Linked DNA regions of Homo sapiens: all the other regions are linked to region 3. Evidence: promoter capture Hi-C in 16 types of primary human blood cells and fetal thymus (Javierre and others, 2016). All regions are on one chromosome and are shown on one strand. The core of a region is centred on a gene start or on the middle of the fragment in contact, and the rest is flanking DNA. Distances in the headings are between cores, read along the strand shown. Region 1 overlaps LINC02129 (long intergenic non-protein coding RNA 2129). Region 2 has its middle 46 kb from the start of LINC02129. Region 3 holds the start of ZKSCAN2 (zinc finger with KRAB and SCAN domains 2). Region 4 holds the start of KDM8 (lysine demethylase 8).

The links. Contacts are between HindIII fragments. The CHiCAGO score rates a contact against its expected background, and 5 or more counts as called.
Region 1: a fragment that was not itself captured here is called in contact with the fragment with the promoter of ZKSCAN2 in region 3 in 2 of 17 cell types (endothelial precursors and naive CD8 T cells); the score reaches 7.8 in endothelial precursors.
Region 2: a fragment that was not itself captured here is called in contact with the fragment with the promoter of ZKSCAN2 in region 3 in 1 of 17 cell types (endothelial precursors); the score reaches 7.7 in endothelial precursors.
Region 4: the fragment with the promoter of KDM8 here is called in contact with the fragment with the promoter of ZKSCAN2 in region 3 in 2 of 17 cell types (endothelial precursors and fetal thymus); the score reaches 10.9 in endothelial precursors.

Annotation. Positions count from the first base shown.
Region 1 is chr16:27,162,760-27,170,179 of GRCh38, reverse strand. All of the region lies in intron 2 of LINC02129 (long intergenic non-protein coding RNA 2129), which reads left to right. Among named protein-coding and RNA genes, the nearest start is that of LINC02129, 10 kb to the left of the region's middle. The HindIII fragment of the contact is 2,579 bases long and covers 280-2,858 here.
Region 2 is chr16:27,127,302-27,134,270 of GRCh38, reverse strand. It overlaps the pseudogene EEF1A1P38. Among named protein-coding and RNA genes, the nearest start is that of LINC02129, 46 kb to the left of the region's middle. The HindIII fragment of the contact is 952 bases long and covers 3,331-4,282 here.
Region 3 is chr16:25,255,488-25,262,729 of GRCh38, reverse strand. ZKSCAN2 (zinc finger with KRAB and SCAN domains 2) reads left to right here and starts at 4,885. Exons shown (of 7, transcript NM_001012981.5): 1 at 4,885-6,001. The coding sequence starts at 5,603. It overlaps ZKSCAN2-DT (ZKSCAN2 divergent transcript), which reads right to left and starts at 5,153. Exons shown (of 1, transcript NR_170220.1): 1 at 1,664-5,153. RefSeq lists enhancers at 4,024-4,103, 4,224-4,543, 4,959-5,519 and silencers at 4,754-4,953, 5,034-5,273. The HindIII fragment of the contact is 3,031 bases long and covers 2,758-5,788 here.
Region 4 is chr16:27,201,940-27,208,787 of GRCh38, reverse strand. KDM8 (lysine demethylase 8) reads right to left here and starts at 5,262. Exons shown (of 8, transcript NM_024773.3): 1 at 5,152-5,262. RefSeq lists an enhancer at 5,058-5,217. The HindIII fragment of the contact is 9,655 bases long and covers 4,370-6,848 here.

The DNA of each region.
Region 1 (7,420 bases), core at 320-2,819, 1.9 Mb before region 3:
TCTGCTTCCCAAGTCGCTGGGACTACTGGCATGCACCACCGTGCCTGGCCAATTTTTGTGTTTTTTTTATTTGTGGAGACAGAATCTTGCTATGTTGCCCAGCCTGGTCTTGAACTACTGGCCTCAAGCAATACCTCCTGCCTTAGACTTCCCAAATGCTGAGATTACAGGCATGAGCCACCATGCCTGGCCAGAACTCAGCTTTATCAGTCAGGCTAGAACTCAGCTTTATCACTCAAGATTCTTTGTTGCAAACCACAGAAACCACACCAGCAAGCTTAAGTACAGGAAGAATACGACATGATTCAATAGATCACAGAACTTCCAGAGGGCTATGATCAGATTTGGAGACTATGTATGCAAGCGGGGCACTTAAATTACACCACCAGACTGCTCTAGTGGAGAGCCTGTCCCTACTGTTTCCAGCCAGAGGCAAACCAGCTTGACTCATTGATGCCCGTTGTGATGGGGTTCCGGCCTAACTTCTGCAGCGGCTGCTGTGCAAGCAGCCTGCCTCTTGTGACCTGCTGAGTGTGTTTGCACAGACAGATGGCACTGAAGAGCTTGCAGAGTCTGGGAAAAGGGGACTTTTGATGCCAACTCCCTCATCTCCCAGAATCCTGGAGATCAGATTCTATTGTATCCCCTTCCCTTCCCTTCCCATCCCGTCCCTTCCCTTCCCTTCCCTCCCCTCCCCTCCCCTCCCCTCCCCTTCCCTTTCTTTTTGAGACAGTCTCGCTCTGTTGCCCAGGCTGGAGTGCAGTGGCATGATCTCAGCTCACTGAAACTTCTGCCTCCCGAGTTCAAGTGATTCTCCTACCTCAGCTTCCTGAGTAGAGAGTAGCTGGGATTACAGGCACATGCCACCATGCCCGGCTAATTTTTGTATTTGTAGTAGAGATGGGGTTTCACCATATTGGTCAGGCTGGTCTCGAACTCCTGACCTCAGGTGATCCACCCATCTCAGTGTCCCAAAGTGCTGGGAGTACAGGCATGAGCCACCGCACCCAGCCTCCCTCCTGCTTTTCCAAAAGCAGTGGTAGATGATAACAATGGTAACCAACATCATTGACTCCCCATGGGGCACTGAGCCATGACTCCTGATGGGCCACGTGTTTTGCAGCATCGTCTCCCATCCTTCTCACTACAATCCTGGGTGGCAGGTGCTGTTATGAGCTTCATTATACATATGAACTGAGGCTCAGAGAGGTTAAGCAACTCATCCAAGGTCACACAGCACAATTGAGAATTTAAATCGAAGAGGACTCCAGAGCCCAGATTCTTAACTACCACACGGTACTGCTGTCTTTACTCCCCGGGGAACTTAATTGATGGTTTAGACAATAGCGAGAGGGAGGGTGTGTATGCATTCATGAAACCCGGTCTGTGCCAATCTTCCCACCAGGAAGGGTGTTGTTGCAGGGCAGGATTGTGCATTTCAGCCGAAGTGGTGGCAGGGGAAGGGTCCCTGTCCTGGCAGACAATGAGCTTTTTGACTTCTAGTGACCAAAGGGTAAGAAATGGAACTAAGCTCTTGTCCATAGCCTGATGACGCCGATGCTCCAGGATCCTTCTTCCCTCCCTCCCTTCTCCATCCTCCTTCATCTTTCTTCCCCTACCATTGTCACCATCCCTATCACCACCACCCTATTATCACCATCCTCATTCAGCATGGGCCGCTATGCACCACTGTCCTCTTCATATTATGTCACCACCAGCCCATCACCAGCCCACCGTCCTTTATTATGACCATGACAATAACCATCACCCTGGGCACTACCACCACCACCGAGCCATCACCAAACTGTCAATGTCACCATGTCTACCGTCTTCCTGACACCCTCATCACCACCGCTATCAGCATCATCAACCCTTCCATCCCCCTGCCATGACTGCCTCTCTGCTGCCACTATCTCCACCTGCACTGTCAGCATCACCACCCGACTCTATGAGCCTGTTCACATCACCATTCACATCACCATTCAGTGATCGACTTCATTCACCACCCCCAGCCCTGTCACGATCATTCCACTGTGCTTGCCATCACTGTTGTCCCCCCAACTATCTTTTTTATCTTTTTTTAAGGTAGAGGTTCTTGCTCTGTCGCCCAGGCTGGAGTGCAGTGGCACGATCATAGCTTACTAGAACCTCAAACACCCAGGCAACAGGCATGTGTGATGACCATGCATGGCTAATTTTTATTTTTTTTTAATTTTTGTAACCTGGGAGCATACATTCAAGTTGCCCCGAATATACACTCCCCCAGCTAATTAAAAAACTTTTTTTTGTAGAGATGGGGTCTCTCTATGTTGCCCAGGCTGGTCTCGAATTCCTGGCCTCAAGCGATGCTCCCCGCCTCGGCCTCCCAAAGTGCTGGGATTACAGGTGTGTGCCATGGTTCCTGGCCGCCATCACCAATATTTTCACCAGCACCAATACAACCCTGCACAAGTCACGAACACTTTCTGAGTCTCTCCTGGGCTTTAGGCTAGTGTTAAATGCCAAAGATGAAAACATGCTGATGAAAGGGACTGTGATTTGTGTTTTCCGTCATTGCTATCATCAGCGATTACTGGGCTCTCTCATTCATGCCTTATTCACCACCATTCCCTGCCTAAACAGTTGCTTTGAGCAGAAGTGCATCCTGTAAAACGTGTGAGTTTCTCCAATATCAAAACACGCCCCAGAGCCCAGCTTTTGCCTTTCCCCTTCCCTTATCCCACAGGCAAATCCCACTCACCGTTCCCTTACTGGTTTTGGTTTGGTGTCACCAGAGAGTACATTTTCCCCTCTCTCCCATCCCTCTCCAGGCCTCTGCATGCCTGTCTTTGACCAACTTGTAACTGGGCTTTAAAGCTTCCCAGCCCCAATATGCTGATATAATTATGATCATATGTTAGGCGGGTTTTGTGAGCCTTAATTAAATGTCCCTTGGCTAAAAGAAGAAAATGGCAAAAATCTGCTTCCCATCGCCAAGGCTGTGCGGGGCCTCTGGAAACCCGTTGTCTTTTGGGTCTGGGTGGCGATTCTGAAGAAAACAACCTGTCCTCCCGGCCAGGCCACAGAGAGGAAAGAGAGGCTGAGCCTGGAGGCTTGAATCTGGCCCCAGATGACCGGTCAGAAGCAGGCAGATTTCAGCTCATTTCAAGAGCCTGTGGTTGGTGGAGTGGGTGGGCTTGGTGGGCTCCGGCGTCACCGTCTTGGTAATAGAATGAGCCCTTACACTAATGCCATTGATTGTAACTGTAATTAGCGGATTTAAGGGCCGAGGATTCAATAGCTCCACAGTCATTCTAACATGCCACGAGTGGGTTAACACTTGTCATTTCCACTGTTTCCTTGGCTTTCAAAGACAGGCAGCTGCTTTCCTTGAAGGGGCTTCATAGGGGCAGTGGGGAGATTTGGGTCCAAATCCTGGTTCTGTTCCTTGCTGTGTGATCTTGGCAAGCCCCTTCACCTGTCTGTGCCTCAGAAGGTGGAAAACAGAGATAATGGTAGTGAATACTGCCTAGAGCTGTGGTGTTGATGAAACACCTGCGTGCTTGGCACAAGGTAAGTGTGCAAGAAGTGTTTTCTGTTAACATTGTTAATTTTTTATTTTATTTTGTTTTTATCTTTTTTAGAGACACGGTCTTGCTCTGTTACCCAGGCTGGAGTGCAGTGGTGCAATCTTAGCTCACTGTAGCCTCAACCTCCTGGGCTCAAGTGATCCTCCCACCTCAGCCTCCTGAATAGCTGGGACTACAGGCATGTGCCATCTTGCCCACATTACTACCTCTTATCTCTGTTTCTCTCTGTCCACCCACACAGATATGCTTTCTCAGATTTTCTGTTCATGTGGGGACCATGTTTCAGAGCTCCCAAGGTTACAAGTTACTATGCCCAGGTAATTAAAAAATTCTTTTTGGTAGCAATGCGGGTCTCACTATGTTGTCCAGGTTTGTCTCCAACTCCTGGGCTTAAGTGATCTTCCCGCCTCAGCCTCCCAAAGTGCTGGGATTACAGGTGTGAGCCACTGTGTCTGGCCCATTATTAACTAATTAGTGCATCAAACAAATGTGTCAGAAATTCCAGTGGATTCTAAGTGGACATGGGCATGTTGGGATATCCCCAGAACACTAGTAGGTGTGGGCCTACCATCTGCGTTTGCAGGAGGACTGAGAAATATCCAGAAAGCAAAGGCCTTTAGGAGCAGCAAGAAGCAGGGCCTGGAGGAGGATAAGGCAAGTGAGGCATTCAGGGCACAACATTTAAGGAGACCCCACTCTCAGGAGCTGACCCTGCACTTTCACGAGCCTGAGAGTGAGGGCCTCCTTAAATTTTCCATTCTGGGCACCTCCTTGGTCTCACCCTGGCAAGAAAATGGACCTATCCAGCTTGTTCCAGTGATCAGAGCTGGGGCACAGAGTTTTATCATAAGACTCTGTTGCAGCCAGAAGTTACCACAATGATGTTGCAGACATTTGTAATGCAATGTGGTTATGTTGTTTCTTTTTTTCTTTCTTCCTTTTTTTTTTTGAAATGGGATCTTGCTATGTTGCCCAGGCTAGACTTGAACTCCTGGGCTCTAGCGATCCTCCTGCCTCAGCTGCCCGAGTAGCTGGGACTATAGGCATGCATTGCTGCTTCTGGCCAGTGTGGTTTCTTTTGAATAGCTATGAGAAGTCTCTTTATTTAGGAGCTCTGCCTCTCCATGTCAGAAGTCAGGAGTGCTGCTTTGTAGCTTTCCTTGCAGCAGGAGTACAGGACCCAGTTCTCAGGAACAGCGTGAGGAGGGGCCTGGCACTAGCAGTGGGCAGGATAGCTGTAGGGGCCTGGTTGCAGTATTCTTGCAGTGTAATTTGGGGACTTCTGGCTTTGTGGGGTCCAAGCTTGATTCTCTGGTTCTTCTGGAGACTTGATGAATGTCCTTTGATGAATGCCTTTGTGACCTAAAGCCGCCATAGTGGAGTCTGTTGCTGGCAACCAACGACTCTGACTAGGATATGGAGGTGTCTCACGAAAGTTAAGGCAGGAATATCCCTAAGTCTTAAGAAAGGCCTGGAGCTGGGAAGTGGAAAGGTATCAGCATGCCATTTCTCTCTCTTTTTTTGGGGTTGTGGTTGTTGCTGTTTCTTCATTCATCTTTCTTAGGTTGAAAATAAATTTAAAAAAGAAGCACAAGATTTCTTTTTCTTTTTTGAGGGACAGCTTTTGCTATGTTGCCCAGTCTGGTCTTGAATTCTTGGGCTCAAGGAATCTTTTTGCTTCAGCCTCCTGAGTAGCTGTGACTACAGGTGCATGCCACTGTGTCTGGCTTTCTACATCTCATCTCTGTTTCTCTCTGTCCATCCACACAGATACACTTTCTCAGATTTTCTGTTCATATGGAGGCCATATTTCACAGCCCCCAAGGCTACAAGCTTCAACCATTACAGAAATTAGCCCCGTTTATCTTGGCCTCAGCACTAAATTCTTATGAGAAATAAATCTGGTTGGCTCAATTTGGGTCAGTTGGCCATGCCTGGTCTAATCACTGTGTCCAGGGAGTAGAATTACACAGTGCAAATATTTCTGATAAGGTCCCTCCCATTGGCAGTTTCCAGGGAAGGAGAATTGATCCTGAGCTGGAACAGATATCCCCAAGGGTCTACCATAATCAAGAAAATTTCTATAGTTAAAGCCAAAGAGGCTACTCAGCTCTTTCTGGCAGCTCCACCCTGTGGGAGGCTGTCTCATTCCAGGGTTGGAGAGAGCTGAAATTAAAGACAGAAAGAGCAGTTTCAGCAAACACTGGAACACATGGGGCCCAAGTGGCTCTGATATGAGGCCACTGTGACATAGTACATTTTAAAAAATCTGGCTGGGTGCAGTGGCTCATACCTCAAATCCCAGTTATGCAGGAGGCTGAGGTGGGAGGATCATGTGAGGCCAGGAGTTCAGGATCAGCCTGGGCAACACAGAGAGACCCTGTCTCTAAAAACATAAAAAAATTAGTTAGGTGTGGTGTCACACGCCTGTAGTCCTTGCTACTCAGGGAGGCTGAGGCAGGAGGATCAAGTGAGCCCAGGAGTTCAAGGCTGCAGTGGGCTATGATTGCAGTGGGAAGACTCTATCTCTAAAAAAGAAAAACAAACAAACAAACAAATGGTTTTCCTCCCCTACTTCCCTTCCCTGCTGCAGAGCACCACACAGCAGTGATGTCGGGAGGTATGGGGTGATGGGGGGTACCTGGTGAGGTAGCAGCTGATCCCAGGGGGCTCACTTTTCACTTTGTGAGTACATGCAGGTACCCTTTGGGTAATCTCCTAAATACTGATGGTGGAAAAATAGGACTCTTGAGGCCAAAGATTCTTTTAAAAGCAGGGAAATCCAAGTCACTACTGAGAACAAGGCAAGTAGGCCCGGGAGCCCACCCCAGGTGTGATGATCATTTACTCAACATCTGCTGTTTCCCAGGCATGCAGCAGGGATGCTCCACTCTCCTCAAACACCAGGATCCCAGTGCAACTTGCCATTTTGCTTTATCCACAGTAGCGTACAGAGCTGTAAATAGCTGCAGAATTCAAAGCAAGAAGAACAAGAAAATCTTTGGGTCAGTTTTGTAGAAACAAAGTGAAACATAATGTTTCATAGAATACAGGCTACTCTGAGGAAGAAATGCCATGCCCTTTTGAATAAGAGGCTTAACCCATGGGGAGCTCAACACATCAGTGTGGGGGTGGCTCATCCATATGTTACTCAATACTACGGTTTTGTTCTAGGTCTCATTGTCTGCTGCACAGAAAGCCAATCACTGAGACAACAAGTATTGCCATGGAAGAAGGCTTTATTATATTCAATGTTTATACTATTATATTTATCATATATTATTTATATTACATATTACAGGCGATGTCAGCTGGAGAGAGGGAGACAAACCTCAAGTCCATCTCTCCCCTCCAACTAAAGTTAGGGGTTTATATAGTGGGGAAGAAAAACAAGTGGGATAAGGAAGAGAAGCTGGTCAACAGGCAGCAGGCATTTTTTTTTTTTTTTTTGAGACAGTGTTTCCATCTGTTGCCCAGGCTGGAGTGCAATGGCACGATCTCGGCTCACCACCACCTTCGCTTCCTGGGTTCAAAAGAATCTCCTGCCTCAGCCTCCCAAGTAGCTGGGATTACAGGCACCTGCCACCATGTTTGGCTAATTTTTTGTATTTTTTGTAGAGATGGGGTTTCATCATGTTGGCCAGGCTGGTCTCAAACTCCTGACCTCAGGTGATCCACCTGCCTTGGCCTCCCAAAGTGCTGAGATTACAGGCATGAGCCACCATGCCCGGCCCAGACACATCTTATTATACAAATGTCAGTTTATTAAGCTTCAGTTCTATGGGCATCCAGATTGTTGGAAAATGGGGCCAGTTTTGCATATGCAAAGTCCATGCATGTGCAGTGAGAAG
Region 2 (6,969 bases), core at 2,557-5,056, 1.9 Mb before region 3:
CTGGAGTCAAGTGCTAATATGCCTTGGTTCAAGGGATGGAAAGCAACCTGTAAGGATGGCAATGCCAGTGGAACCACACTGCTTGAGGTTCTTGACTGCATCCTACCACCAACTTGTCTAATTGACAAGCCCTTGCGCCTGCCTTTCCAGGATGTCTACAAAATTGGTGGTATTGGTACTGTTCCTGTTGGCCGAATGGACACTGGTGTTCTCAAACCCAGCATGGAGGTCACCTTTGCTCTTGTCAGTGTTACAACTGAAGTAAATTGTGTTGAAAAGCACCATGAAGCTTTGAGTGAAGCTCTTCCTGGGCACAATGTGGGCTTCAATGTCAAGAACATGTCCGTCAAGGAGATTCGTCATAGCAACGATGCTGGTGACAGCAAAAAGAAAACCCACAAATGGAAGCAGCTGGCTTCCCCGCTTAGGTGATTATCCTGAACCACCCAGGCCAAATAAGTGTGGACTATGCCCCTGTACTGGACTGCCACACGGCTCATATTGCCTGCAAGTTTGCTAAGCTGAAGGAAAAGATTGATCTCCATTCTGGTAAAAATCTGGAAGACGGCCCTAAATTCTTGAAATCTGGTGATGCTGCCATCGTTGATATGGTTCCTAGAAAGCTCATGTGTATTGAGAGCTTCTCAGACTATTCACCTCTGGGTCGCTTTGCTATTCGTGATATGAGACAGACAGTTGCTGTGGGTGTCATCAAATCAGTGGACAAGAAGGCTGCTGAAGCTGGCAAGGTCACCAAGTCTGCCCAGAAAGCTCAGAAGGCTAAATGAATATTATCCCTAATACCTGCTACCCTGGTCTTAATTGGTGGAAGAACAGTCTCAGAACTGTTTGTTTCAATTGCCCATTTAAGTTTAATGGTAAAAGACTGGTTAATGATAACAATGCATCATAAAACCTTCAGAAGGAAAGGAGAATGTTTTGTGGACCACTTTGATTTTTTGTTTTGTTTTGTTTTTTCGTGTGGCAGTTTTAAATTATTAGTTTTTAAAATCAGTACTTTTCAATGGAAGCAACTTGACCAAAAATCTGTCACAGAATTTTGAGACCCATTAAAACAAAATTTAATGAGAAAAAACACACATTATTACTAGACCCCAAAATGATCACAAATCAAATCATTGCATGGATTCCATTCTGGTTGTCAGGGAGATGATCCAGAATGTGCTAGTATTTGTGAACACACTAAAATTTTAATAAGTTATTGCTGAGCACTTATAAATCCCTAAGTGTAATCTGCAAACTTTCAGGGAGACTTTAATGATAGTTTTAGACTCTTCAAGACAAGATCTGTCTTCTAGCATGCTCCAGCTTTGCCTTGTCTCTGGCCCTTTCCTGTTCCTTGCAGCAGCCTGAATTAGTTCATTTTCATACTGCTATGAAGAAATACCTGAGACTGGGTAATTTATAAAGAAAAAGTGGTTTAATGAACTCACATTTCCACATGGCTGGGGAAGCCTCACAATCGTGGTGGAAGGGGAAGGAGGAGCAAAGGCACATCTTACATGGCAGCAGGCATGAGGGTGTGTGCAGGAGAACTAGCTGCCCTTTATAAAACCATCAGATCTTGTGAGACTTATTCACTACCATGAGAACAGCATGGGAAAACCAGCCCTCATCATTCAATTTCCTCCCACTGGGTCCCTCCCACTACACATGGGATTATGGAAGCTACAACTCAATATGCGATTTGGGTTGGGACACAGCCAAACCATATCACAGACTTATAATCAAATGAACAATTGTAAAATTGTTCATTTACATGCTTGAGAGTCTGGACTTTATTTTTTTGATGTTTAGTACAGAGATGGATACCAATTAGGAACTGAGTATATTTAACAAATAACTTCAATTTTTCCTTTTATACCAAAGTTGTATATGTTTACACCCCTAATTCTATGGGAAAATTGGGCCAGTTTCACTCTTGGATGGAGCCAGCTGGTAAAGTTGGAGGTGAGGGAGTCTTTTTCAGGGACCCTGGAGTGTGCCCAGAATTTGTTTCCTGGGAAGAGTGGAGTGGTTCAGTGATGTTTCTGGAGAGTAGGAGTGAGGATGAGACTCCACCAGTCCCATTGGGCAGGGAGCTTCCTTCCTGGAAAAATGTCCTCTTTATGCTGAATCCCATCAGAGACTCCTGCTGTACAGTGATTCAGGGAAAGGTACCGCCTCTCTCTTTGTGCCTCCGTTTGACTAAAATGGGGGAAATGATACCACAGAGGCCTCATGGGACTGTGGAGAAGAGTAAATGAGCTGATATATGTAAACATGCCCAGCGTGGTGCCTGCCATCACAGATGTTCAAGAAACACAAGTTTTCTGTCTCCCTTTGCCCATTGTGTTTGAGAACACAAAGCCCTTAGTTAATGGAAGCACTAGTTGGGGAGCGGGAAATCTGAGTTCTAGTCCTGGTTCTACCATGGTGTGACTTTGGGCATATCATCTTCCCTTTCTGAACCTCCATTAAAAAAAATCGATAATGTGGGGATGAATGATAATGCTATCTACCTCACAGAATTTCAGATGGGATTACATTAAATACAGTGGTGTTTGAGTAAGAGACAATCATGGTCTCTGGCAAGTGACAACAACAATAAAAACTGAAAAAATGGCTGGATGTGGTGGCTTATGCCTGTAATACCAGCACTTTGGGAGGCCAAGGCAGATGGATCACTTGAGGTCAGGAGTTCGAGACTAGCCTAGCCTACACAGTGAAACCCCATCTCCAGTAATACAAAAAAAAAATAGCCAAGTGAGGTGGTGTGTACCTGTAGTCCTAGCTACTCAGGAGACTGAGGCAGAAAAGCCGCTTGAACCAAGGAGGTGGAGGTTGCAGTGAGCTGAGATCATACCACTGTACTCCAGCCTGGGTGACAGGGCAAGACCTTGTCTCAAAAAATTAAAAAAAAATTTAAAAGGGGAAAAAGTGCTGTTGACTGGAATTATAAAAGGCCAAATATTACTATATTCCTATATACCAGGAATGGTTCTTAGGAACCTAGATCCAGACTCTCATTTATTCCTTGTGTTGGCAGCAAGAACATCTCCACAAACTTGGGGCCTGAATGAGGCAGAGTGCTTTCATTTTCCCTACGAATTGCTTCCGCAACCACCTGCCTTATTAGTAGAATGTTCATCACTTTTCTTGTGGAGTTCTCTGTGCCCTCTTAAATGATCTGTGAACCATACAGGTGTTCTTAGTTCCAAGGGGAATGTCTGCCCATGGTTAACCTACAAGTGGCTAAGGACAGGGGTCTGATTAGTTCACTGCTGCAGTTGCCTCATGTTGCCAGAGGGGTTGCTGTTGAAGAAAGCTTTGCACAGTCTTGTGAATGCTTTGTTCTGTGATTATGTGAGACCCAGTTTCTGGATATCCATTGAGAGAGAATGATCCGACTCCTTCAGTGCTAAGTGTGGCCAAGAGCTACACACATTTGGCCCCAGAGTTACATCTCTACAATCAATTCTATCAGTTCGCATACACAGTCACTCCTTGGGGTATAAGCAGGAACCAGGAACACTGATTTGGGGTCAGGTCCAAAGTGTGACTACTCAAAAATGCTTACAGCAACTATACTTCCTGCCTCTCCTGTGACTTAATTGTTAGACAATTAGACAGCAATTATTTGACTCATTCAAACCCAAAAACTCTTGTTATATTCATCTTGAAGGAAGTCCTGGGCCACTTGAAGCAGGCTACCCTTGGTGGCTACAAAATGTCATCTGTTCCCAGTTGTGCTATGTTATAGTTTACAGAATCTTTTAATAAAATCGAGGGAAGAATCTGCAAGTTTGACATTCTATAGGACAGTCCTATTATCCTCCCAAGAATGGAGCAGAGGTCACTGTACTGTGCTCACAAGTCTAAAAATGTGGTCTGGAGATACTGTAGGAAGAGTAGAGGTGTTAGAAACAGACAGAAAGTGTTCAAATCTGTGGTGGAAATTAGTCGTGTTTACTCACCCAGTGTCTTATTGCTCCTTCAGCTCTCATGGGAACCTCAATTTTCTTTTCGTGAATTATCTCTTCCTCGCTCTCAGTCTCAGTTTGGGTGGGACTGGTCCTACCTTTGTTCTCAAGGGGTGGGAATCTGAACCAGGCCTGGCCAATGAAAGGACTGAAACTCCCTGGCTACAATTATTGGTTCACGGATCAGCACATGACCCAAGTTGGGCCAATGAAAGGCTGACTTGATATTTTTGCTAGAATGGTGGGAAAAGAAGCACTTCCTTTCTTTGGGGGAACACTAAGCTGATGGGATGTAAGCTTAAAGCTGCTAGGATTCTATGTTAGCCACCAGGTAGAGAATGCCTGATTGAAAATGAAGTCAACTTTGTGGAAAGAAGAGCCAAGTGATAGAGACTGAGAGATTCTACATGATGTTGAGCCCCTGGATCCAACTGTGCCTGAAACTAGAACTACAGATGGTCTGTCATGAACCAGAACATACCCATTTCCTAGTTAAGTCAGTTTGATTGTGTGGGGTTTTGGTCATTTGCCATAACACAGTATGCAATTAATCCCCTGAGGATCAGTATAAGTGGGTGCTCAGCAGAGCAAGATGTTAAACAAAAGACAGACAGACAGACAGGCAAACAGGCAGACAGATGTTCTCTGATGATTAGGCACTTCTTTCCACCTCTTTTCAGAGCAGAGCCACCCCACCCCTCCTCACTGGATGCTTTGCTTGTGTCTGGCACAGCCAGGGCAGGGTGCCAGTACCAGGCAGGCTGCAAATATTACAAAACGTCTGGGGAAAACGGCATTGTTTCCATTTATGTTTTTGCTTCCCCTCTTGTCTCCTGCATTTTTGCTTTTATTTAAGGCTGTGTTCAATGTTGTAATTACTTTTTTAATCGGTAATGTCTGTGTCTGGGGTGTGTGGTTACCCACCATTGCTGGGCCTGACACTGTAAACAAATGCTGGCACTTTGGCTGGGAAGTTCCTGCTGAAATATTGCCCTAAATAAATAAAAGGCAAATTAGATATTGGAAAATAACTTTAAATTACATTTGAATTCTTGGGGAATTACATCTTACATTTGTGTTAGGGACAAATGAGTTTGCCATAAATAATACGTCTAGAACAATTGACCAAGGAGGACAGCGGTGTTGGACAGTTTCTGGGAGGAGGGACGGGAATAGATCTTTCAAAGGGAAGTTGGGGGTGAAACAGAGGGGACTTCTTAAGGGATGGTCATGGGAATGGGGTGCAGAGAAGTGTAAATCTTAAGAAACCTTGGGTATATCTGCTGGATATGCCAAAGAGATTGGTACTCTTGAAAGGAAAGCCATTAGGTTGATTAACTGGGTTGTTCCCAGCAGATGGAAGGAGGAGCTGATGTTATCATGTACCTACTACCTACTGGATGCCTGACAAACATGGAGGTCGTATAGTCACCAGCTTTGGTGACAGGGACCTGGGTACAAATACTGGTGTTGTCACTACCACTGCTGACCAACAGGCAGACAGCTGATGTCAGGGAACTTTAGTTTCCTGACCTTGTTACTGAAGAAGCTCAAGGCAGGGAGGTTCATATGGCTTGCCAGTAGGGATGTTGGCACCAGCGTGACTTGGGTTGAAGTCCCTGTTTTTCTGGTTCCTAGTGTGTACCTTTGGGCAAGTCACTTACCTCTCTGACCCTCAGTTTCTTCATCTGTAAAATGAGGATCATAACAAAAGTAACTTGTCTCTCAGAGTTGCTATGATAATTAAATATAATAATGAATGCTATTTGCCCAGCACAACTTAATGCATGGAATGGTAATTAATACTATTCAGTCTTGTTATTTGCACAACGGTCTTGTGTAATAGTATGTTAAAATTGAAGTTTCACTTAGGCACGAAGATAAGATAGAAGGGAAATTTTGAACTGAGGTGCCAATTCACTGTATACAGATTTTTTTCTTTTCTTTTCTTTTTTTTTTTTTGAGACAGAGTCTTGCTCTGTCACCCAGGCTGCAGTGCAGTGGCGTGATCTCAGCTCCTCTGTCTCCCGGAGTTCAAGTGCAACCTCCGTCTCCCAGGTTCAAGTGATTCTAGTGCCTCAGTCTCCCTAGTAGCTGGGATTACAGGTGCCTGTCCCCACACCTGGCTAATTTTTGTATTTTTAGTGGAGATGAGGCTTCACCATGTTGGCCAGGCTGGTCTCGAACTCCTGACCTCTAGTGATCTGCCAGCCTTGGCCTCTCAAAGTGCTGGGATTACAGACATGAGCCACTGCACCCAGCTATGTAGATTTTCGAATGAAATAGTTGGGCACATATACCACAATTCTCAATCCCCTTTTACCTGTTTCAGAAATAGAAAATAATTGGGAATGAAGAAGAGACAAATAATTTGTAAAGATGATATCTGTACAGAAAGCACTGCTGCAAACCTTATCCTCTCCCTACTTTAGGGAATATATGGTACCTGCTCTCTTTATCTCAAAGCTAGGGATGGGTGTGCAGAGTACAACCTTAAGACTAGAATATGGGATATATTAGTTGGGATAGGACAGGCTTTGTTGTAGTAACAAATAAACCCAGAAATCTCAGTTGCTTAATCCAAAAACAATTTATTTCAAGCTCAAGTTGAAGTCTGGTGCAGTTCAGGTTGTCCTCTTCCTGTTATGATAGTGCTGTCTGGAACTTACTGCCTTTAAGGGAGAAGAGAGAGGATGGAAACATCTGGCTCTCAAGTGCCTCTATCCAGAAGAGACATATGGCCATTCCATTCACTTTACTGGCCAGAACTTGTTTCATGGCCTCCATCCAAATGCAACAGAGACTGAGAAACAGAGGAGCACATAGCTATTTGGTGAGCACTATCAACTCTTAGAGACTCTTCTCCTAGATGAGCTTGAAATGTGTTTCCTGCATGCAGTTGGGAGACATGGAATACCAGTGCTTGAGTCACTTCCCCCCTTGCAAAAGGCAAAGCAGCCAGTGGTACCAGGAAAACTGTTGGGTT
Region 3 (7,242 bases), core at 3,636-6,135:
TGGTTAAAAACATAAAATGTCCTGCTTCACTGAGTTAACATTATAGTGAGGCAAACTCATGTAACTGCCAATTATTTAGAAGTGTGATAACTTCACCTAAAAATACTGCCAGCTTCTTTTTAGAAATCAGAAGATCTAGGCCGGGCGCAGGGGCTCACGCCTGTAATTCCAGCACTTCGGGAGGTCAAGGCAGGCTGATCACTTGAGCTCAGGAGTTTCAGACCAGCCTGGGCAACATAGTGAGACCCTGTCTCTGAAAAAAATATATAAAAATTAGCCGGGTAGTGGCATGTGTCTGCAGTCCCAGCTGCAGTGGGCTATGATTGCACCACTGCACTCTAGCCTGTTTTTTGAGAAGGAGTCTCGCTCTGTTGCCCAGGCTAGAGTGCAGTAGCGCGATCTCGGCTCACTGCAAGCTCCACCTCCCGGGTTCACGCTATTCTCCTGCCTCAGCCTCCAGAGTAGCTGGGACTACAGGCGCCCACCACCACGCCCAGCTAATTTTTTGTATTTTTAGTAGAGACAGGGTTTCGCCATGTTAGCCAGGATGGTCTCGATCTCCTGACCTTGTGATCTGCCCACCTCGGCCTCCCTAAGTGCTGCAATTACAGGCGTGAGCCACCGCGCCAAGCCCTCAAAATAATATCATCAGAAGATCCAGCAGGGCTTGGTCTGTAATCCTGCATGGCAACAAGAGACTGGAACTAGTGGCTGCTTCCTTTAGACAGGAAATGTGGCCTTCAGCTCACCACACTCCCCACCATCCCCTATTGTCTTACACTCTGCCCTACTTCACTCTATGCTATCTGCCTGAGCTCTGCAGGCTTTCAAGTTTGTGATTCCTGCTCCCTCATGTCCCCAAGCTGTTTGTGATACTTGCCTCTCCTAAAACCACCAAATAGCCCAAGGAGAATATAAAGAACCCTACTCTTATTTGAATCTGAATCCTGGGTTGCCATTTAATCTGATGTAACCTTGGGCAGTGACATCACCTTGCTCAAGTCTCAATGCCCTAAACTCTAAAATGAAGGTAATCATATCTGGTTTATAGGATTTTTGTGAGGACTAGGCTTTGCCTAATTAGCTCTTCTCCTTTGGATCTCACCCCTAGCACTGCTTCTTCAAAAAAACCTTTCCAGACCTCCCAAATAGATCAAATCCCTCTGACAGACATAGGTTCTCAGCACCATGTCTCTTCTTGGTGGCACCCATCTCCCTTAGAATTGTACTTGAGTTTGTGGATTACTTATTTAATTCCTGCCTCTCCCACCAGACTGAAAACTCAATAATGGGAGGGGAATCCTGCTTTTGCTCCCTACCTACCACCATATCTGGCATTAAATAGGTCCTCAATAAGTATTATTTAAAAAGAAAAATGAGCTGTGTAAGGATGCTGATACAACCCCTGGCATATACGAGGTACCCCACTGATTCTCTCTGCCCCACCCTCAGGTAATGCCTGTTATGTACATGGTACCCTAAGCTTCTGGGGCTAAAATTGGCTCAATTTTTAACATTTGGGAAACAAGTGATTAGGTTGTGTTTTCTAATAAGCTATCTACCTCCCAGAATAAGGATTTTTGTTTTGCCCACTGACATACATGTAGCCGAACTGGTGTCCAGGCCACTCGTCGCCTGAAAGCCAAAAACTCAAAAGACAAGCTTTGGTGAAAGCAAAGTTAGCTTTATTCGAGAAACCAGCAACCTGCAAAAGGCAGTGCACTAGCATTCAAAGACCACCTTTCTCAGTTGTGCCTCTAGATCCAGGGATTTTAAGGAAAATTAGGAGAAATAATGATCAAAACATTCTTGTGGGCCAGGAGCGGTGGCTCATACTTGTAACCCCAGCAATTTGGGAGGCCGAGGCAGGTGGATCACTTGAGGTCAGGAGTTCGAGACCATCCTGGCCAACATAGTCAAACATCATCTCTACTAAAAATACAAAAATTAGCCAGGTGCGGTGGCACACGCCTGTAGTCCCAGCTACTCAGGAGGCAGAGGCTACAGCGAACCAACATCACTGCACTCCAGCCTGGGAGACAGACCAAGACTGTCTCAAAAAACAAAACAAAGAAACATTCTTGTGAATCATGCGCAGTCTCAGATGGGCAGTTAGTCATTACTTTCTTGGTCAATGCCTTGTGACTAGACTGTGCAGGGGCCATCAGCCTGTTCCCAAAGCTGCGGGTCTGTGTGTTTTATCTGTTGAAGAAGGTCCTGTTTTTTTCTGTGGCTGTTTTTAGTGAATAGTTTACAAACTCAGGCAAAACAATAATTATACTCAAGCAAGCAAGCTTTTCTCTAACATAGAGTCAGTACTGCTGTTACCCGTTGCAGGGCCTAGGGGACTTAGCTGGACGCCTACCTGGCTTTTGTTACCCAATGCAATGCCTCCATGACATAGCTAAATTCCTACTCAGATTTAACTCTGCTTATTTTTAGAAAACAGGTTGTCTGTGGTCATAGGTTCCTTCTTAGCTTACTCGACCTCTGAAGAACCTCTAGCTTCATTCTAATCCAACTTCAGTACTAAATGACATTCCCACTGGTTGCCATGACAGTTGACAATCACCGTGATGACCCGAAGAGACCAAAAAAAGGACAAAAAAAGGGGCAGCTCCTTGATTCCAGGAAAATCTACCTCCCTTCCCAAGAAAAAACATGAATATTCCTCCTCTTGTTCTTAATTTTTATTTTTTTTAGAGACAGGGTCTTACCATGTTGCCCAAGCTGGTCTCCAATTCCTGGGCTCAAGCTTTCCTTCTGCCTCCTCGCCTTGCTCTTAATGCCCAGCCCCTTCATTAAGGACACCTGACGACTAAGCTCTGATTCTTTTGTTTTTTTTTTCTGTTTTGTTTTGTTTTTGACACAGAGTCTCACTTTGTCAACCAAGCTGGAGTGCAGTGGCACAATCTCAGCTCATTGCAACCTCCGCCTCCCGGGTTCAAGTTGAGTCTCATGCCTCAGCCTCCCAATCAGCTAGAATCACAGGCGTGTGCCACCATGCCCAGCTAATTTTTGTATTTTTAGTAGAGACGGGGTTTCGCCATGTTGGCCAGGCTGGTCTTAAACTTCTGACCTCAAGCGATCCACCTGCCTTGGCCTCCCAAAATGCTGGGATTATAGGCGTGAGCCACCACGACCAGCCTAAACTCTTGATTTTTTTAATCCTGCCCAAATTCCTATCTAAGGGATCTGGGGAGTCATGACCTACAAACCATAAATTCTCATCAGATGGGTTTTATTTAATCCTATATATGATGACTTACTTTCCATTCTGACTCTGGCATAACATTACGTGACAAAAAGAAAGTCAAAATATTTTACCCCAAAACATGTTTCCTTGCCCTATTTTGCAATTTCTTCCATAAAGGACAGCATTTTCCCCCAAAAGCTATCCTTTGTGGGGTAAAATGTGCATCTGTAAAGAACATCTATTAACATAGCTAGATGTTTTTCTTCCAGGCCCTCCCAATCCTAAACGGATTAACTAAAAGTCTAACACCTTTTGAAGATCTGAATAGGAAACATTTGTCATCTATTATCTCTAAGAGCAGCCACCATAAGACTTCAAAAGAACCTTAGTCTCCACTATCTTTTATCTTAACCTGAACACTTCCTTTCTATCAATCCCAGGTCTTCAGACAAACTCAACCAATTGTCAACTAGAAAATATTTAAATTTACCTATAGCCTGGAAGCCCCCACCCCCACCCCTTTGCGTTGTCCCGCCTTCCTGGACCAAACCAATGTATTTAATGTATTTGACTGATGTCTCATGCCAACCTAAAACATAAAACCAAGCTGCACCCCGACCACCTTGGGCACATGTTCTCAGGGCCTCGAGAGGGCTGTATCACAGGCTGTGGTTACTCGTATTTGGCTCACAATAAATCTCTTCAAATATTTTGCACGGTTTTACTTTTCGTCAACACTCCCTATTACCTGTAACTTCTCAGTTTCCAAGAGCTGAGAGCTTGATTTGCGAGCTACCCTCCCACTTCTCCAATTCCATGGCCACTGAATGAAGGCTGCACTGCCTGATACTCACACTTGGTCTCATGCGCTGGCTCTGCAACAACGGACAGACAAGAGTTCCTTTGGGGGAAACCAGCTTCCCAGGTGACACTGTTGCCTCTGCTACATGCGCAAAGCGCAGCCTGGCACATAGTAGGTGCTCAAGAGAGGGAAAGCCGGGTCTATGAATTCAGGGACAGGGGCAGCACCAGAAGAGAGCAAGCTGGGGCCTGGCTGGCTGAACCCTGGCCCCGAGACCCCTGTGACCCCCCTTCTCATCAGGATGCACCACATGAACCTCCCCAACGCGAGGGCCAACAAGTGGCCCCAGATGAGACCGCGCCGGGAAGGGCCTGGGGCCACGCACAGATACTTCCGCCAGAAAAACACCACGCCGCGCCGTGCACCTCCGCCAGAGGAAGAAGGTCCCGCAGGGTCGGGGTAACCGCTCCATCCCCGACCGCAACCCTGGACCAGGTACAAGGAACAGATCCCTCCACCGGAACGCCGTGTCCCTCCGCCAGACACAGGAGTCCCCGCTCCCGTGCTCTCCTTCCCCGGCAGCCAGGCCCCGGTGCCGACTCCTCCGCCTCAGGGAGGCCCCGCCGCCGCCTAGATTCTCCGCCTGAAGCGGGACTCGCGACGGCAGGTTCCCTAGAATCCCTCTGTGTCCCTCCGCCCCGGGGAGGACCCTCCGCGCCCCTCTACAATCTTAAAGTCCCTCAGCGACGAGTCACCGCGCCGCGCGCTCTCGCGAGAGTCCACCGCACGGCCCCCCCCCCCTCCCCCAGCCCCTCGCCCGCCAGGACGCCTCGCGCGGGCCCCGCGGCGCTCGGTGGCAGGCGGCGCATGCGTGACTGCGGTTCCCAGCGCCCCCCGCGCTCTCCGCGGGCCGAGTGGACGAGGCCGAACGCGAGCAGCCTGCCGCTGCCCCCTGCGAGCCCTGGCTTCGCCCCGCAGCTCTTCTCCCTTCCGGGCGGAACAGTTTTTGCGGCCTTTCCTCGGCGGCAGCGGTTTCCTCAGGACGGTCGGGGCCGTCGTGGGCCCGAAAGAGCCCGGCGCCGCTCTCGGAATCCGGCGGCCCCAGCGGCACCCGCGGCGGCCTGGACGTGCTGCGGTGACCCGAGCCCGGAACCTGGCGCCGGGCGGGGCCTGCACATCCGGCCCCACCCACTCGGGGACTCGCCTCTCCGCGCCCGACCCGGGAGTAGCGGACACACCCCCTCCCGGCCCGGCTGTCCGCCTCCGCCCAGCCTTTCCTCAGCCTGCTTCATTTTTCTCCCAGTCGTCCAGCCTCCCGGTTTCCGACTTTGCACTAAGAGGGATGCACTCTGGAAAACCACATTGCGCGGTCACATCTTGTTTGGAGAAGAGGCCAGGCTTTTGCATCTTAGAGTATACGTTCACCTTTTCAAGGGCCTGGCATAGATTTGATTAATCAGCCTGGAATACCCTGTTCCTGCCGACCTGGCCGTTTTTACCTCCGTACCTTATCACACTCCCAGGAACATTAAGCAGGGAGCGCTTGGAGTCTTCTTTGGGTCCCCACCTTGAGCTAGACGTGAAGTTGACCCCTGGGCTGCAGCATGGCTGTCGCCCTCGACTCTCAGATCGACGCGCCCCTGGAGGTTGAGGGATGCCTAATAATGAAGGTGGAAAAGGACCCTGAGTGGGCATCAGAGCCCATTCTGGAAGGATCGGATAGCTCTGAGACCTTCCGCAAATGCTTCAGGCAATTCTGTTATGAGGATGTGACTGGACCCCATGAAGCTTTCAGTAAACTCTGGGAACTTTGCTGCCGGTGGCTGAAGCCAGAAATGCGTTCCAAGGAGCAAATACTTGAGCTGCTGGTGATTGAGCAGTTTCTCACCATTTTACCCGAGAAGATTCAGGCTTGGGCACAGAAGCAGTGTCCGCAAAGTGGAGAGGAAGCGGTGGCCCTGGTAGTGCATTTGGAGAAAGAGACTGGAAGACTAAGACAGCAGGTGAGAGAGGATTTTCCAAATTTTTGTACTTAGAAAAAAGGGAATGGGAAAGGCATGTGGGCAGGGATGTATTGCAGAAAGACGTGCTCTTCAGAGAAAGATAAATGGTACTAATAAAAGACCCTATAAGGGGGTCTTTTCACTTTAAGTGAATCCACTTAAAAGGGGATCAGAATTTCACATGAAATAGAAAAATAAAAGCTTTGATTGAAATATTATCTTACAATGGAAACCAGACATTATTCACCTAAGCATTTATCGTCATCTTTGGCATAATGTTTGCAACAAAACAATATAAGAGAACAATATGGTTTTGCGTCACAGAGGTTCACTTACGCATTTTGATCAAAAAAGGCTATTCTGTTCCCCCTTTAAAAAAAAAAAAAAAAGACTTCATCCGTTATCCCAGAGCCGTCTCCAAGCGTTTTACTGTTGCACTCAGTGTCTTCTGAAGTGCTCTCATGCCTTCATTTCTGTCACTCTCCTCCAGTCTAACTGCCACATCTTCATTTCTCAGTGGCTTGCATGCTCTTCTAGTTGTTCTTCAACCTCACTTTCATGAACCTCGTGAAATCCTGCAGCATTTGCAAGATTTGCGGTTTCACCTTGCATCAGACTTGCATTGTGTAGAGATCTATCAGCAGGTTGCTGTATTGGTCAGGGATAGACAGATAGATGTGGATATTAATTTTGTAAGTTTTCATTTCACTACTGTATATATTCATGTCCTGGTAACTTCTTTGCGAACGTAACAGATATAGAGTCAAATAATATCTATTCTAGCAACAAGGAGGCTCTTTCACTCCTGACAGATTTCCTTCTCTGTTTAGTATTAAATATTATTCTGGCCAGGCGCGGTGGCTCACATCTGTAATCCCAGCACTTTGGGAGGCCGAGGCATGTTGATCACCTGAGGTCAGGAATTCGAGACCAGCCTGACCAACATAATGAAACCCCATCTCTACTAAAAAAATATAAAATTAGCCGGTTGTGTTGGTGCATGCCTGTAATCCCAGCTACTTGGGAGGCTGAGAGAGGAGAATCGCTTGAACCTGGGAGGTGGAGGTTGCAGTGAGCCAAGATCGTGCCATTGCACTCCAGCCTGGGCAACAAAAGTGAAACTCTGTCTCAGAAAAAAGAACACTGTTCTGTTACCTTACACCCAGACTGCTGGACAGTACTCTCAGCCCAGCGCTCTCAGAGACTCCACTGGGAATGGAGTGGAATTTTCATTCCTTCTC
Region 4 (6,848 bases), core at 4,013-6,512, 1.9 Mb before region 3:
GCGTTTCACAGTCCAATTTCCAGCATGGACTTATCCACTAGGCCAGCACAAGACACCACATGGGCCCATCCCTGGCCTCCCTGGGTGGCCTCCTGGCTCATCCCGTGTGTGGCTTACATGAATCTTATAGAGCAACATGGAGAAGTCTCATCTTGAGCATCCAAAAGACCTCAGGGGCCTCATATCCTGGCTTCTCATAAAGGCCAGTGGAAAGGCCTCCCAGGAGACCATTTATTGCCCTACTATAAAACTGGCTTCCACTGGGGCTCTATGTACCAGCTTTGTAAACCTGTCTCTTGATGGCCTTAGAAAACAGCCTCCCAGAGGGTTTCAAATGGGCTATAAACCTGTTCTCTGCAATGCAGATTACGGGCTTTGTAAATTGGTGTTTCAGGGTGACCTTATAAAACGGCCCCTCACAGGGCGCCTATCAGCCTTACCAAGCCAGCTTCTCAAGGTGGCCTCACGTGTGCGGCTTTGTAGCCAGGTTCCCCCAGTGGCCCCGTGTCTGCTTTGTCACCTGGCCTCCCAGGGTGGCCTCATGTTTGGTCTTCATAGGCGGCCTATCTGCTACTTTGCAAATCGGCCTTGGAGACCTCATGTTGAAGGCCAATGGACACAGCCTTCTGGGAAAGATGGCCTCCTAATACTGTGAGTTGGCTGTACAAAACTATCTGCTCTTGGCCACATGAAATAGCCTTATGATTATTCTTTAATGCAGAGTTCTTCAATGAACGGCCTTATCAAAAGGCCTTCAGAGATACTTACGTTGACAATATATGATGGTTTTCCAGAGACAGAGGCTTCAGGATGGCTGTATAAGTTTGTTTTCAAAATGGCTTTTCAGATTGCCTCTGTATAAGCCACTTGAAATGGCCTCCCCAAAGGCCTCAAGATTATTATACACTATCCCCCAGCAGGGCACCTATAATCCCAGCTACTCGGGAGTCTGAAACAGGAGGACTGCTTGAGCCCAAGAATTCGAGACCAGCCTGGGCAACATGTAAAGACCCTGTCTCTAAAAACAATTAAAAAATTAGTTAGCTGGTCATGGTGGCACACACCTGTAGCCCCAGCTACTCCGGGAGCTGAAGCAGGAAGATTGCTTGAGCTCAGGAGTTTAAGGCTGCAAGTGAACTGTGTTTGTGCCTCTGCACTCCCATCTGGGTGACAGAGTGAGACCCTGTTTCAAAAAATAAAACTATAGCCTCCTACAAGGCCTTATGTTGGCAGCATGGTGAAGTGGCATTCTGGCCGCATCAGTCTTCTGCCTTGTTGCATAGGCTTCCCCAAACCTCTCATGATTTGGCCTTTTATGTAGTTACCATATCAAACAGCCACATCCTGGTATAGGAAGCAGTCTTCCAAAGCAGTTTTGTGAGATGGAGTCTTGCTCTGTCACCCAGTCTGGAGTGCAGTGATGCGATCTCGGCTCACTGCAAACTCCACCTCCCAGGTTCAAGTGATTCTCCTGCCTCAGCCTCTGAGTAGCTGGGACCACAGGCACGCATGCCATCACGCCCGACTAATTTTTGTATTTTTAGTAGAGACGGGGTTTCGCCATGTTGGCCAGGCTGGTCTCCAACTCCTGACCACAAGTGATCCACCCACCTCAGCCTCCTAAAGTGCCGGGATTACAGGTGTGAGCCACCACGCCCGGCCCTTGTAACTTGTTTTAAAAACTGGCCTTCCTATAGATGGGGGCTTGTCTGAGGACCAGGTGAAGTCAGATTTTGTCTTAGTTTTACAAATCGATCTGTGGTTTCTTCATTGTGCCAGGAAAGAATTGTTTGTTGTGTCCATCTACCCCGCTGGGAGCAGCCTCACATTGGCTCCTGTTAGCCATGCAAAATGGCCTTACAGAAGGAGTCTTGGTCTGGCTGGGGAAACACTCTCTTGCTGGCTGTATGAAACAATCTTCCAGGGTCACTGGCCTCATGGGCTATGAGAAGCAGCCTTCACACCACCAACCACTTGAGATGGCCCTCCTGGGAAGGTCAGGTGCGAGCCACAGGTCACTGCCTTTCTGAATGGCCTCAGGTCCAGGCTCATCAGCCTTCTGGCATTTCCCATATACTGGTCTGATAAAAAGGCTTCTTGTTGTATCAAGAGGTTTTCTAGAGGAAAGGACTAGCCAGAGTAGCCTTATGGCCTGGCTTTATTGATTGGCTTCCCAGAACTCCTCACTGAATTGCTGTTTATAAAGTCTTATATTAAGGCCACGTGCATCGCTCACGCCTGTCATCCTAGCACTTTGGGAGGCTGAGGAGGGTGGATGACCTGAGGTCAGGAGCTCGAGACCAGCCTGGCCAACATGGTGAAAACCCATCTCTAATAAAAATACAAAAATTAGCCAGCGTGGTGGTCCACGCCTATAATCCCAGCTACTCGGGAGGCTGAGGTAGGAGAATTGCTTGAACCTGGGAGGCAGAGGTTGGGGTGAGCTGAGATCTAGCCACTGCACTCCAGCTTGGGTGACAGAGCAAGAGTCTGTCCCTCCCGAAAAAAAAAAAAAGCACACGCACACAAAAGGCTTACATTAAACAAACAGGCTTCCAAAGGAGGGAGTCAAGAATAAGATGTGTGACTTGCCAGTTCCCTGCAAGAAGAAAAAAGATGTGTGAAGCAGTCTTTGAGAGTGGTGCCACAGACTGGCCTTCGAGAGCTCTACATAAAAGGGTTTATTGGGAGTTGTACAGATAGCCTTCTAGTGGCCAGGTATAGGTGGGTCATCCAAACCAAGATGCTATTAATATTTATGTCTGCATCAGTAAAAAACTGGTGTTATTCTAGGCAAACTGACACCTACCGTAACCCAAATGTGGGCCATATCAAAAAGCCTGAGTGGCCTCGTATCTTCACTTTACAAATCAGTCTCCCAGAGCTCAACAGGTATTGGCCTTCAAAGACCTCTTGTTGATCACAGAAGGTTTTTTTATTTTTATTTTTTTTGAGACAGAGTCTTTCTGTCACTCAGGCTGGAGTGCAATGGTGCGATCCCGCCTCACTGCAACCTCTGCCTCTCAAGTTCAAGCAATTCTCCTGCCTCTGCCTTCTGAGTAGCTGGGATTACAGGTGCCCGCCACTGTGCCTGGCTAGTTTTTCTATTTTTAGTAGAGACGGGGTTTCACTCTGTTGCCCAGGCTGGTTTTGAACTCCTGACCTCAGGGTGATCTGCTTGGCTTCCCAAAGTGCTCAGATTACAGGTGTGAGCCGCCACGCCCGGCCCAGAGAAGGCTTTATTTATTTTTGTGGGGAGGGGGGCGGTCAGGTATAGAAACAGCTTGAGTGGGCTTATGTCCTGGCTTTGTGAACTGGCCTCATAACCTGGAACAGCTTTCAGGGGGAGATCAAGTGTGGGTTGCATAAAACAGCTTTTGAGTGGACTTGATTCAGCCCCTAAATGCTCCTTACATAAAGTCTTGTCTGCTGGTGTATGAAATGATCTTGCAAAGAAGGTCAGAATATAGGCTGTTATGTGCTAACCTCTGAGTGGTTTTTCTCCTGGATTTATAAATAAGACTAAAATGAATCTTATAAAAGCCTTCTTGTTGGTCGTACTAAACAAAAAGGAGCCAAGTATAACCTGTATAAAACAGCCGGAATAGACTCAGGCCTGGACTTTATAAATTCACCATCCAGGCAGAATTCACTATGCAAACTGGCAAAGTAGGTCCCTGGTAGGTTATGGGATATATCCCTCTTGGAAGCCACTGCCCTGTCATCCTAGGATTCTCTCAAATTATTTTTATTATTTTTTTTGAGACGGAGTCTCGCTCTGTCACCCAGGCTGGAGTGCACTGGCCCAATCTTGGCTCACTGCAACCTCCGCTTCCCAGGTTCAAGCAATTCTCCTGCCTCAGCCGCCCAAGCAGCTGTGATTACAGATGTGCACCACCACACTCAGCTAATTTTTTATTTTTAGTAGAGACGGGGTTGCGCCATGTTGGTCAGGCTGGTCTTGTGAACTCCTGACCTGAAGTGATCGGCCTGTCTCGGCCTCCCAAAGGGCTGGGATTACAGGTGTGAGGCACCGCGCCCAGCCTTAAATTATTTTTAAACATCAACTCCTCTAAAGCACCTCCCTGAGTATTCTTTAAGGTGGCTGGGTGGAATGGCCTCTCCGAGAGCCTCACTGTGATTTGCAGAGGGTCTCAGGGTGGGCACTCTGCAAGCACCATGCTGGTCATGAGAAAGCCTCCCAAAAGGGGCTTCCAGGACAGATCAGCCTACACCTAGCTTTCTGGGAACAGGCGGTCCAGTTCTCTAATCTCCTCAATGTTATTATGGCAGTATTCCACAAAAATTGTGCAAAAACAAGAGCTTCGTAAAACTTCCCAGGAAAGTTTGGAACATTTTCCAGAAAGCTTTAATTCATGGCACAGGGATCCCTTTGGCTCTCTAAGGGGCACACAGTCTTGTGTTTGGGTCGTCCGTGTGGCCCCAACGCCTGCGCACCTCCTGTCCCCGGGCTTGCTCCCGAGTCCTCCTGAGCACGGCGATTCCTACCGTTGCCGGGAAACGCACCGATGCCCATCGTTAAGTCCTACCGAGCTACAAGCACCTTTCCTTAGGGCAGTCACACACCCAGGCCCCAGAGGGTCCCCCGTACCCCGCACTGGCCTTGAGCCCCGAGGCCTCAGACCCCCTTCCCTCCTCAGCGCCTTCCCCGGGGCTGCATTTCTCGCGGCTCATATTTGGGACCTGACGGCGGAATCGTTTCCAGCCTGCCTTGCGGCCCAGGGGCAGCGGCTGGTTGCCTAAAAGCAGCGGACACACATATAGCAGAGTATAAAACCCGCGCAGGCGCACTAGGCCTACACCAACGCGACGCCAAGAACCGCTAAAGCGCACAGCAGCCCGCCGTAAGGGCCTGCCCTCACGCATGCGCAAAACCACTGCCAAGAGACGAGCATACGCACGCGCGGAACCTTTCCCTTTATCCTCCCGCAGGGCAGGCCGGCGACGAGCTAAATTGCATTCTCAGAGCGCATGCGGCAACTCGAGCCACCCTCGGGGTTTTCCAAGGCGCACGCGCGAGGCCGGGCTTGGCTGCTTCACATGACGCCTGCGCGGTCTATGCCTCTGAACCCGGCCTCTCCACTTCTGAGGAACTGGAGCTGACTCCGCTCTCGAGTTGCTCAGACTAACCTCTCTTCAGCTGGGACGGTGTCGAGTCGCCTTTGGGCTGGCGAAGACTCGTTGCGTTTGGTCCGACCACTCGGCTGTGTCCCCTGAGGAGCCAGAGGCTAGCATAGGAGTATCGATCGCTCACCGCTCGTCTGATCACGACGCAGTGCCTGGAGGAGCGCCGAGTGATCGATGCCGTGGCCCCGCCCCACTGCTGTTTAAAAGGCCGGGGGATGGAGAAGACAGAAAGGCTTGGCTGTATCCTCTGGGTCCTTCCACGCTAGTGATACCGCTTTTTCCTCTGCACAGATAACAACTTCGTACAAGGCTGTTTGCATCCACCATTTAATCTCTGCAGCTAGGATTATTAGTTCTCCCTATTTTACAGAGAGCGAAACTGAGGCTCAGTGATTAAAGTGGCCACATACTTGTACTTTTGGAAAGTCAGATCCACAATTACCCACGAGCAAGTGCTGCATCCACAGTCTGTTCGAGTGAGAAGGCAAGTGGCCAGGGGACACACTCCTGCCACCTTTGCTTTGATGCCGAGTGGTGCGTGGTCACTGGGACTTTTGTGTTTTGAGCACACACTCCTGTGGACTCCAAGTATGCACGCCTTTTGCAGCATTGCACAGAGGCATGGAAAGTTATGTTCGTACTGAGCTTGGGGTCTGAGTAGGAAACAGGCTTGCTCAGGATCAGTTCATAGATTAGTGGATTCTAGGTACGGTGCTAAAATACTTTAAAAATATGAGGATCGTAGCTATTGTAATGATCATGCTCATCCCCATTTTAGGGAGTGTATTAGTCCGCTTTCATGCTGCTGATAAAGACATACCCGAGACTGGGCAATTTACAAACAAAAAGGTTTAATGGATTCACAGTTCCACATGGCTGGGGAGGCCTCAAAATCATGGTGGAAGGTGAAAGGCACGTTTTACATGGTGGAAGACGAGATAATGAGAACCAAGTGAAAAGGGAAACCGCTTATAAAACCATCAGATCTCATGAGTCATATTCACTACCAGGAGAACAGTATGAGGGGAACCTCCCCTATCATTCAGTTATCTCCTACTGGGCCCTTCCGCAACACGGAATTATGGGAGCTACAATTCAAGATGAGATTTGGGTGGGGACACAGCCAAACCATATCAGGGAGGGAGCAAGTAAAGCACAGAAAGATCTCCTAACCCACCAGGCTCACTGGGATGCTGGTGTTTGAACTCAGCAGCCACAGGTTTAGAATCCTCATGGTTATGTGCTACACTAAGTTTCCACCCTTGAGTAGTGACAATGTTGAATTTTCCCTGAGTCTTGTGTCCCCGGAAAAAAGTAAAAAGGAATTGCTCTCACCCTTTTGTGTTGTGGAAAAAAGTTTACTGCAAAGAATCACCCCCCACCCCCACAAGAGAATTTAGATAAGACTCCAAGACACCACCCCCATTGTTTACCTGTGAGAGCAGGTAAACAGGACACAGACCCTCCAATTCTCATTCATTGTCTTATAAGTGATTACCTGAACTGCTTGTCCCACTAATCAATCCTTATAAAACGCTGGTCAACCACTTTGGTTAAGATTCTTTCCTTCCTCCAGGCCCCTGAACTTTGGCTCACCCTGGGCCTGGGCCAGCAGACAGCCCCTCCTCAGAATAGGCTGGCCTCAGGTTGATATATTCTCTGATCTACTAACCCATCATGTCACCCTTTCACCCCACTTC